3 separate regions of the Homo sapiens genome follow, and all the other regions are linked to region 1. The links are contacts of gene promoters, found by promoter capture Hi-C in blood cells and fetal thymus (Javierre and others, 2016). All regions are on one chromosome and are shown on one strand. Each heading gives the region's core, a stretch centred on a gene start or on the middle of the fragment in contact. The rest is flanking DNA. Distances are from core to core; before and after follow the strand shown. Region 1 holds the start of JDP2 (Jun dimerization protein 2). Region 2 overlaps ERG28 (ergosterol biosynthesis 28 homolog). Region 3 has its middle 38 kb from the start of FOS.

Region 1 (3,651 bases), core at 685-3,184:
GAAAAGCATCAATAGCAAATAACAGAGAAGATCTAATGGAGATTATAGAGAGGTAGAGGGGACTAAAGGCCTCCCAAGTCACCCCTTGGTGCCACCCCTGTAACATATTTAATTTGTGGGGGAAGCAAAGGCCCAGTAGGACTGCTGGTGGCCCAGCCACAGTCCAAAACAGGCCCTAGAGAGGACGCGCTCTAACCACACACCCTAATTATTAGTCCCTGAATATAGATCAGTTTAGTTTATCCAAAGCCCCAGCTGAAGACACATCAAGTACTATTGCCTCTGTTCCATGTTTTGTTCCATATAAACATCCAGACACAGGTCTCATGGGAGAAACATCATGAGGCAGTTTCACAGTCCCTGGCTTTGATCTTTACGCTGTAGTAAAGGTGTCATTGGCCTTTCTGGGGCGAAGAGTCATGCTCTTCCACAAGAGTATCAAATTACTGCTCATTTTCCAATGTATATTCTTTCAGGGCCTTGCTTTCTTCTTACCTGCCCACACCAATGCTGTGAGGGAGACTGCTGATGGCGAAGGTGAAAATGGTCAGGCAATGTCATTGGGACTTGGTCTGTCTCTCCTTCCATTAGCCCACTTCTTTTATCCAGAAAGATTTCACTGCACTGGGGAAATAAGGAGAATAAAGTCTCATGCACTCACTCACATGAGAGAGACATGCATGTTCGGGTTTGCTCAATGGCACCCATCTGTCTCAAGTCTTGTTGTTTCTTTCACTCTGAGCATCTGCACTCCAAGAAGGCATGAACTTTTTCTTTCACTTCCTTTCTTCTATGGGTGATGACCTGACATCACTCTCAGAAGGAGGCCGAAAGTCGCTGAGTATAAAAATCGTCACTCCTATCTGGCTTAGGCAGAAGGTAGGGGGCTCGATGGGTACCCAGGAGCTCTGGAGGTAGGAGATGCCATCTAGGGAACCCCGTTCTACCTGAGGGCTCTGTGTCTCTGCCTTTGTATACTGGAGGGCACCATGGATGTCGCCTTCCCTCTGGAGTCCCCTTCACCATTTCCTCTCTAGAAGGATGGAAGGTGGGAGTGGGGTTGGCTATTGAAGCTGGAACGGGGAAGAAGGCCACTTGGGGTCTGCTGAGGGCTGGGTCTGCTCACTGCTGTGTCCGGAGTGGAAAGGAGAAGCCCGCTGGAGCAGGGTACAAGCCCAAGGGTCAAACTGCGCCAGCAGTAGAGCAAGCCGCGGTCTCAGGCTGCAGCCCTAGCAGAGGTCAGGCTGGTGCAGCCAGCCGTCTCGGGGCCTAAGGGCGCTGGCGGGGGCCGGTGGGTAGGGGTAGGAGTCCCCAAATGCCTTCATCTCAGCCCATCCTTCTCCACCGAAAAATAAAGCAGGCTGGCGAGATCGCCTCCTCACCCGCTCAGTCCTGAAGTGTCCAAGGATGAAACTGTGCGGAAATTCTCCCTGTCGCTCTCAGTTTGTGGGGGAAGCGCCGGGACTGAGGTACATGGTTAACACAGGCTGTGCGTGAAGGGGCTTTTGACTTTTCCCCCGGCTCCGGCCTCTCGCGTCTCTCTCCTAGGGCTGCGGCTGCTGCTGCCTGGCGGGCACAAGCCGGGCGGCGGTGCGCGGGGGGTGCGCTTACATAACCGCTCGCCGCGTCCTGCTTTCTCGAGCGCTCCTGCACCGTGGGGTGGCGGAGCCGGGGGACTGCATGGAACCCGGGACGCCCCCGCGGGGAGAGGAGCGCGAGCGGCCGCGGGAGGAGGGCGCCCAAGGCGGCGGGGGAGGTTAAGGTCAGTGGGTGTGAAGCGCCGGCTCCACACCCCCTCCTCCCCGGTCCCCTCCTTCCCTTCCTCTCCGTCCCCCTCTGACGTCTGGAGCTGGCAGCTCGGCCGGTTCCGCATTCCCGACCCCTCCCCGCCGCCCAGGGGCCGCTATATAGCCGGGGCTGATGCAACCCGTCCCGCCGCCCGCCACAGCCTGCGGGAGGGACGCTCGGCGGCCGCGACGGGGGGCGCTGGCGGCGGCGGACGCTGCAGCGGCGGCGGGGCTGGCGCCGCGGCGGCTCCCGGGCCGGGACAGGCCTGGGCACCGGGCGGAGCTCCGCGGCCGGGCGGCAGCGGCGCGGAGCGGGCACGGCGCCTGCAGCCGGGCCCCGGCCCCGGGGGCGCCGCCTCCCCCCGCACCTTCTGCACGGTGGGTGCGAGGGCGCGCGCTGGGGGCGCCGGGACGGGCGGGGCGGGGCAGGGCGCGGCGCGGGCACCTGGGACGGCCGCCCCCGCACGGGCGGAGCGCGAGGAGCCCCAGCCCAGCCCCGCGGGGAGGCTCCCGCAGCCCAGGGACCTCGAGCTTTCCCCGCGCCGGGCGCTGCAGCCGGGCCCCTCCCGCGAGGCGCCCGGCAGCCTGAGGCTTCCTTTTGGTTCCCGCCCCGGGACGGGAGGCTCCGTCCGCTCCCTGGACAGCCGGGGTGCTCCCTCCTTCTCCCTCCCGCGCTCTCCTCCCCCGTCCGTTTGCAGGGAGGTGCTCTCCTCGGGCGGCGGGGAAGGCGGGGTGAGTGGGGAGAAAAGTGCCCGCGGAGATGGGCTGTGCGGGTGGAGGTGGAGGGTGAAGGGCCAGGGAGGTGCGGGGTTGGGGTCGGGGTTAGATTGTGGAGGGATGACAAGGACCTCCTGGCAGTGAGGAAGCGCGACTCCCGGAGGACCCGGACCCGGAGGAGAGTATTGAGAAGGGCTCGGGATTTCCATCCAATGAAGGCAGCTTCTCTCATGGCCATTGCTTCGGAGCTCTGGGCTGGGAGGGGATCTAGGGGTGGCCGGGGTCCCCTTTGGGCTCTCCTGTCTCCCACGCCAGGTTATATAAGGAGGCAAGCAGGCTCCTGTAGGTAACCAGCCTCTCCCTTGCCCAGCCCAGCTTAGAAGGCTCTCCTCTGCTCCTCCCTTCAAAGGAGGTTGTCGAGGGGTAGGGGTGCAGTGGGGGGTGGGAGAGTGTAGGGGTGGATTGGGCCTTCCACCTGGATCCCTGGACCCTGGGATGGCAGAGCCAGGCTTTGCCTGGGTCAGTAGGAGGAGCAGGGAAGATGAGGAGGCTGGGGAAGATGGGGAGGTCCTGGCTCTTTTGCAGGGATGGAGAGGCTGGTGGAAGGAGAAATCAGCCGACCCCCTTGGGTCATCTCCAGTTGCAAGATGGCGTGGCCCTTGCCCAGGGTGCTGCCCTCCCTGTTGGAATCCAGGGCATGGGGCTATGGCCCGACCACGTGTGCTCAGGGCAAATGTGCTCAGGTCTATATCTCAGAAAGGGCTTGCAGCCTGCTTAGGCGTGTGTACCCAGGCTTAAATCTTGGTGGTCTCTCCCTAGGGTCTTAATTGGAGGAGCATCAGGAATTGGGAAGCTTTGAACCATGTTTGGGTACATTTGTACCCAAACGTCCTTTAAGCCCTTGGTAGAAACTGCATTCGCGTATCATCTCCCTTCCCCCCAACCTTCCTTCCCTGAGGGTTTTAAAAAACACTTCCCATTGCTTTTACCTTTCCAGCAAATCTGGCTGCAGCTTGGATGGATAGCTTATCTTCCTTTGCAGGTTTCTAGGGGAGAGTTTAACCAGGTATCAGGTGTGAGCATGGCTCTGATTTTGTATAAACCTGAGGATCGAGGAAGAGAAGCAAAATCTATTCTCACACCTCTG
Region 2 (3,651 bases), core at 677-3,176, 230 kb after region 1:
TTTTAAAAATTAAAAAAAGAGGCTAAAAGTGAATAAAAGGGCAGATGATGGAATAGAAAAGAAATTAAAGAGGAGAGACGACGAAGGAAGAAGATGGCCAAGGTGGAAAACGAGAAAGTCCTGGAGGTGATAATGCTGGCCTCAGTTTCTCTTCTTCTGTCTGGATACTGGTTCTACTTCTAGATACCGGAGCCCGACCAGCATACCCAGGATGGAGAAACCTTAAATACAGAGGAAAGACTAGTGACTAACATACATACGGTACCTTTCTTCTCTCTCTCTCCTGTGTCCACCCTCTGTACTAGCTCTAGAGCTGGCACAGCTCCTGTAGGAGGTCTAGGGTGGTTGGATGCTTACTTGCCACCATCAGGGGTGCCAGGACGCCAATCGTGGGAGCTGCAGTTCCATAGACAAACAACTCAGAGAGGAAATGCCCCAGGGCAAGGAGGAAGGTCCAGAGTGTGATGTGATAGAGCCTATAAGGAAGCAGACAGAAATGGGAACCAAAGTTACTGTTTGTTCAGAACAGAGGAAAAGTATCAGACTTCATACAGACAAATAAGAACCCAGGATGTCATTAAGACTTAAAAGAAAGGACACTTGTTCCTGAGGAAGAGCTGGTTATTTGATCACAACGATATTCTCATCTAGGGCAAAACTGAAGGTTTCAACTGCTAAACTGAGAGGAGAATGGTTCAGGCATCCAGAATGAACGTCCAGGTCTCAGCAAAGTGGTGAACTCAGCTATAGCAAAGCAGAGCCTGAATGATGACAATCGCAGGCAGTGTAGACAACTTTGGATCCAGCACGCTTACATATTCTATTTATCCAAATTGGTTGACTCTGCAGTCTAATCCCACCTGGCAGGCATCTGGCCATGCACTTGTCGGTGTTTATAAGATGGATGCCACAGAACGAACGGCCTCATGGGGAGTAAGGAGCAAGGACACCTCTGGGGCTTTTAGATGCTCTTGCAATATACGTTGGTTACTTTGTGCCTTAGCCTAGAAAAGTAGTCACATTGAGGACATGGTGACAACCTCATGGGAAAAGAACTTATCTTTCAGCTTTGACTATAAGGTAGAGAAGAGACAGGCTACTAGGTGACTGACCACTTTGTTTGCTGATATCTTTTTAGTATAAAATTTTTTAAAATTATGAAATACTTCAAACATACAAAAAAATTACTGAACACTATAATGAACACCAATGCAACCAACACCCAGCTCCCTCAGATCTTAACATCTTGACATTTTGTTTCAGACTCTTCTAATAAAAACTTACAGAGAAGAGTTAAATCATCCTGTGTATACTTATCCTGCTCTAAGTCTGTTCTCCCTCATCCCCACAAGTAACTGGTATCTTACATTTGATTTGTATCTCTCCTGTGCATATTTTTACACCTTTTTTTTTTTTTTTTTTTTTTTTGAGACAGACTCTTGCTCTGTCTCTCAGGCTGGAGTGCAGTGGCACAATCTTGGCTCACTGCAACCTCCGCCTCTTGGGTCAAGTGATTCTCCTGCCTCAGCCTCCTGGAGTAGCTGGGACTACAGGTGCACACCACCACGCCCAGCTAATTTTTGTATTTTTAGTAGAGATGGGGTTTCGCCATGTTGGCCAAGCTGGTCTCAAACTCCTGATCTCAAGTGATCTGCCCACCTTGGCCTCCCAAAGTGCTGGGATTACAGGCAGAAGCCACCCGCGCCTGGCCCATTGTGGAAACAATATGTATGTGTGTTGACTTTCAGTCTCTAGTTAGGGAGGGAATAGGATCAGAATGCACATCAGAAGTGCATCGATCAAAGTCCTAGGCTAGAAAGGTCTAGAAACAGGAGTCAGCGTTTGCAGCTGTCCTGTGTGGGGAGAGGTGAAAGTAAATGGTAACTGAGGTAAAGATAAGTCTGGGTCAGGCCGGGCACAGTGGCTGAAGCCTGTAATCCCAGCACCTTGGAGGCCAAGGTGGGTGGATCACGAGGTCAGGAGTTCGAGACCAGCCTGGCCAACATGGTGAGAACCTGTCTCTACTAAAAATACAAAAATTAGAGGGGCATGGTGGTGCGCGCCTGTAATCCCAGCTACTGGGGAGGCTGAGGCAGGAGAATGGCTTAAACCCAGGAGGCGGAGGTGGAGGTTGCAGGGAGCTGAGATTGTGCCACTGTACTCCAGCTTGGGTGACAGAGCAAGACTGTCTCAGAAAAAAAAAAAAAAAGAGATAAGTCTGGGTTGTCTTCGCTCACTTCAAAAGCACAACAATCAAAAGATATATCCCTCATACTCATCAGCAATTCTTCATTGTGGTACAGGTCTTTAAAATGATTGTTCAATCCTCCCTTCCTCTTAGTCACCCTGAGAGGTAGAACAGATATCTATTCTCATTTTATGGATGAAGAGGCCAAGGTGCAAGGAAGGTGAATAATGGACTTGCTACTGCAAAGCTAGTTACCAACAGAACTGGGCCCAGAACTAAACACACTGCTTCCAAAAGTATGTGTCATTCTAGGACAAGTAAACTGCAGGTTCAAGTTTGAAAAAAAATTAAAAAAAAAAATAAGGTTGAAGAGATCAAACGGCTAATAGCCCTGCTTCAAATCTCACTTGAGTCAGTCTTTCTTTAAACTAACTGTATCTCTAATATTTAGATGTGCAAAATCAGGAATGAAAATCATGACCTCCAGGGCTGCTAAGAAAAGACTTAATCAAGATCACGTAGATAAAAGCTCAGCATAATAAGAGGGGCTCAATAAATATTATCGCCTCCTGTTTTCCCCAGATGCCAAGAGCCTGGATAAGACAGAAAAACATTTTAATGTGAAGTTGGCATTCAGATAGCCTCCCTCGGTGACCTGAACAAACTGTTTCCACCTAGAGTGTGATGATGACTCCCGCTGGGAAGAAAGCTCGAGCCCCCTCTAGTGGCCAGCACTGGTTATGGCTTCTGATTGCCTGCAATTGTTCCACCCTGGTCTGTTTGAGTACCCAAGACAGGTAGATTCAGGAGCCCTAGCTTCTCTTTCACCCTCACCTGCTGATGCTGCATACACATACAACAGTTTACTTGTGGGTTCCTCTTTTTTCATGGATTGTGATTTCTGTTCATTCCTGCTTCTTAAGGAGGAATGTGAGAAAGGTATGTGTGGGTGGCTACTCTAAAAAGAGCATACCACTCTACTTCTTTAGTAGAAGAAGGGCTGATTCTTTCATAAAGAAGTGGAGGGGCATGATGCAGGCCACTGGATAATGGCCTGCCAGTTTGCTATGTCAGTTCCAAAGAATTTTCAGACTTTAATGAAGACCTGTTAGGTCTACTATGTTTTCTAGGCTTGGAGGGAATGTAACCTGTGAGTTTTTTATTATTCACATTCTAAGCTAATGCATTAAAATGATTAACAGTTCCCATTACTCAAGGTAACAGGTATGCCTCGCATCTGATTTCCAACAAAAGGATGCTAAAGCTCTTCCTTCCCTTACATACGTCTTGTTGTGAATGTCAATGGCACAGAGGCAGCGAATCACTGATGAGAGCAGCGTCCAGATCCCAAAGGTCCGAGCTTGGAGGCCATTCACTGTGTAGCAGAAAAAAGCAAGAGTGTTCAGAAGGGGAGACTTGAGGTTCCTTCCAAACTCCTCCTATTTCACTGGTGGTTCATGGGA
Region 3 (3,651 bases), core at 360-2,859, 190 kb before region 1:
AGTACTAGGTTTCTCAAAATATAAATTATTCACAGGGAACAAGCCTAACATATCTCAGTGAGCTTATCAGACAGATATTCATCCTGTCCCCCCAATACCAGCAGGGAAGACATGTTCCGTACTTGTTGAGCTACGTGTCTCCCAGGTATAATCTCCCAGGGTATATTCTGGCTAACATGATGGAGCCCATAAGGCATCACCATGGGAATGAGGACTTGGCATGGACACCTCTTGGCTCGTGGAGACTGCCAGAATGTGAGGCCTGCGGCTGGGGCTCATCTTGCTGATTTGGGCTTCCCGTCACTGGCAGCTCCCACAGCAGGTGGCGTTCCCATAACTAGCAACTTCACTGAGCCACTATTTCTTAGCTGTTCTTTGAAAGACGTTGAAGACCCCTCTCTTCCACTGGCCAAAGCACTTCTAAGGGATTTTGGAGAGAAAAACTTGGGAGCTTTCCATGAAGAAAACAGAAGAATCTGGCAGCCGTTTCCATAGGGCTGAACAGGCACCTTAGAGAATTCCAGTGAAGAGGGCAGCTAAGGGAAGAAGGAAACAGAAACGGACTAGAATCAAAGTCAGGGCTCCTAGGGGCTGGATGGGGAAATGAAGCTAGGAATGGGGAAGGTATAGATGAATCACTGCGTCGCTTATTAATAATTAATTTAGGCAGAATCTTGCTACTCATGTCCTCCCCCCACCATGGCTGGGGGCAGGAGCTCACCATTCTGGCTCTTTAGTGGTCTGCTTGTTGCCTTCCAATGCCACTCCATCATGCTGTCTGTGTCCTTTCTAAAACACAAATCCTGTGATCCCACTGGGTAAGCCTGTTCCATGGCCCTTCATTTCTCTCTCTGGAGAAAACCTAAATGTTTTACCAGGTAGACAAGGCCCTCTGCAACCTGGGACCTGCTTATTTCTCTGGCTCAGCTCAAACTGCAATCCTCTCAACCCTTCACACCAGCCCTCTCCTCCTTCCACTCCTTGGCACATTTTTTTTTTTTTTTGGATACAATGTCTCACTCTGTCACCCAGGCTGGGATGCAGTGCGTGATCTCGACTCACTGTAGCCTCGACTTCCGGGGTTCAAGGGATCCTCCCATCCTCCCACTTTAGCTTCCCCAGTAGCTGGGACCACAGGCATGTGCCACCACGCCTGGCTAATTTTTCCACTTTTTTTTTTTTGTAGAGATGGGGTTTTGCCATATTGCCCAGGCAGGTCTTTAACTCCTGGGCTCAAGTGATCCATGCGTCTCACCCTCCCAAATTGCTGGGATTATGGGCATGAGCTACGGTATCCTGTCCTTGGCACCTTAAAGCTAAATGTGCTGAACTCTCCCATCCTCTGTGTGTTAGCATGCACCATTCCATCTGCCTAGAATGCCCTTCCTGTCACTTTTTTTCCCCTGAAAAATTCCAAAGCTTCTTTCAGGCCTCAACTCAAGCAGGATGTGTTAACTCCTCCACACCTGGATCAGGTCCCTTTCTACTCCATCTTTGCTCACCCTTGCTGCAGTGCTTGAATGCTCTGCAATCTTTCCTGGGGTTCTACAAGACAAGACTGCATTTCATTTTTTTTTTTTGTATTTTTAGTAGAGATGGGGTTTTGTCATGTTGGCCAGGCTGGTCTCAAACTCCTGACCTCAAGTGATCCCTTGCCTCAGCCTCCCAAAGTGCTGGGATTACAGGCATGAGCCACCCGCCCAGCCAAGACTGCATTTCCTTACTGGGCCTACTGCTCAGCCTGCCCAATAAGTTTTTGCCGAATGAATGAATAGGGGAAGAAGCCACATTTTTGAACTAAAGCTTTCTCAAATGTTGTGAGGGATAGGGTTTGTGGGAAATGACAGTGACATTGAAGAGGAAAGGCCAGGTCCTGGGAAGTCTGACCATGAGTAAAACCAGTGGGCCTGCAGTTGTCTGTCTCCAAAGCCTCAAACAGAAGGGCAGAGAATAGACCTGGCCTGTCCTGCCCACAGTTGTATCATGCAGGTAGCACTGTTGAGGATGGAACCATTAGTATGGTACCCATCTCACCATGGTGATCAGCCACCATGGATCAGCATCTTTCCAGCGGTTTTCCCACCATCTATGGCGGGGCCTGCCTTTTCCGCACTCCCATGCCACCACGCATCTGTGGGATAAGAGTAGAGAATTTTTATATGGACCTCCGTGTCCTTCCTGGAAGACAACATGCCTCCATCTATGTCTCCCGCTTGGTCAAGAAACTGCCAAGAAACTGCCAAGCCAGCTGTGATTCTACGAAGACCATCAGAACCTTGCAGCTCCATCCCACGGGCGGGTTGCCCTCTCTGCCCAGGCCACACCCTGGGTGAGGCTGGCCTTAGGGATCTGGGCACAGGAGAGGATTCAACAGGCTGAATGCCTAATACTTGACTGAATTAAACCGAGCCACCTTGGGTCAGGGAATTCAGCTCAGCAATTCTGGTGGTAGCTGACATCAGTATCTTTGAGGAAGTGGAGATAGGATTAAAAGAGACCTCATGCTATAAATCAGGTTCAAATGCATGGAGAGAGACTAATTAAATCCCTGATACTGCCTATATACACAAAGCAATTTTTTACAAGACAGTTAATCACCACTTAATTCATCTGTTTTAATATTTACATCTTCATTTATTAGGCTTTATTAAAGTAGGACCTAGCTTTCCTTTTTTTTTGAGACGGAGTCTCGCTCTGTCGCCCAGGCTGGAGTTCAGTGGCACCATCGGCTCACTGCAAGCTCCGCCTCCCAGGTTCACGCCATTCTCCTACCTCAGCCTCCCGAGTAGCTGGAACTACAGGCGCCTGCCACCACACCCAGCTAATTTTTTTGTATTTTTAGTAGAGACGGGGTTTCACTGTGTTAGCCAGGATGGTCTCAATCTCCTGGCCTCGTGATCCACCTGCCTTGGCCTCCCAAAGTGCTGGGATTACAGGCGTGAACCACCGCGCGTCGTCGGACCTAGCTTTTCTATACTCTGAAGGCATCACTGCCCAAAATATTTTCATTTAATACTGTGTCAAAAACTGCCTACTTATCTTCCAAAGACAGATCTGTGTGTGTGTGTGTGTGTGTGTGTGTGTACATGGACTGTTGTCCTAAGTCCTTTGTCTCCTCTTCTCAGAGTCTGCCCCATGATAACAGAATAATAATGATGTTATTCCAGAATAAACTTGCAATGTGGGGGCTCCGAGTGGTGGCTCATACCTGTAATCCCAGCACTTTGGGAGGCCGAAGTGGGTGGATCACACTTGAGGCTGGGAGTTCCAGACCAGCCTGGCAAACATGGTGAAACCCTGTCTCTACTAATGGTACAAAAACAAAAATTAGCCAGGCATTGTGGTGCATGCTTGTAATCCTTAAGAGGCTGAGGCATGGGAATTGCTTGAACCTGGGAGGCAGAGGTTGCAGTGAGCTGAGATTGAGCCACTGCACTCCAACCTGGGTGGCAGAGCAAGACTCTATCTCAATCAATCAATAAACAAACTTGCAGTGGGAAAGGTGGGTACATAACGGGCATTTTTTTGGGAAACTTTCAGAATTTTATTTTATTTATTTTATTTTTTTTGAGTCTCGCTCTATCGCCCAGGCTGGAGTGCAGTGGTGCGATCTTGGCACACTGCAACCTCTGCCTCCCGGCTTCAAGCGAT

Evidence for each region. The method cuts DNA at HindIII sites, captures the fragments that hold promoters and counts their contacts. A CHiCAGO score of 5 or more calls a contact.
Region 2: a fragment that was not itself captured here is called in contact with the fragment with the promoter of JDP2 in region 1 in 1 of 17 cell types (activated CD4 T cells); the score reaches 5.4 in activated CD4 T cells.
Region 3: a fragment that was not itself captured here is called in contact with the fragment with the promoter of JDP2 in region 1 in 1 of 17 cell types (monocytes); the score reaches 5.9 in monocytes.

What each region holds. Positions count from the first base shown.
Region 1 is chr14:75,426,088-75,429,738 of GRCh38, forward strand. It overlaps JDP2 (Jun dimerization protein 2), which reads left to right and starts at 1,935. Exons shown (of 4, transcript NM_001135048.2): 1 at 1,935-2,165. It overlaps JDP2-AS1 (JDP2 antisense RNA 1), which reads right to left and starts at 1,568. Exons shown (of 2, transcript NR_184172.1): 1 at 1,383-1,568; 2 at 1-624. RefSeq lists enhancers at 704-803, 1,054-1,383, 1,404-1,463, 1,431-1,988 and silencers at 1,654-1,923, 2,174-2,353, 2,414-2,583. The HindIII fragment of the contact is 6,934 bases long and covers 1-3,355 here.
Region 2 is chr14:75,651,414-75,655,064 of GRCh38, forward strand. It overlaps ERG28 (ergosterol biosynthesis 28 homolog), which reads right to left. Exons shown (of 5, transcript NM_007176.4): 3 at 3,473-3,563; 4 at 358-476; 5 at 1-221. The coding sequence ends at 142. Among named protein-coding and RNA genes, the nearest start is that of ERG28, 7.6 kb to the right of the region's middle. The HindIII fragment of the contact is 7,207 bases long and covers 1-3,651 here.
Region 3 is chr14:75,238,654-75,242,304 of GRCh38, forward strand. No RefSeq gene overlaps it. Among named protein-coding and RNA genes, the nearest start is that of FOS, 38 kb to the right of the region's middle. The HindIII fragment of the contact is 384 bases long and covers 1,418-1,801 here.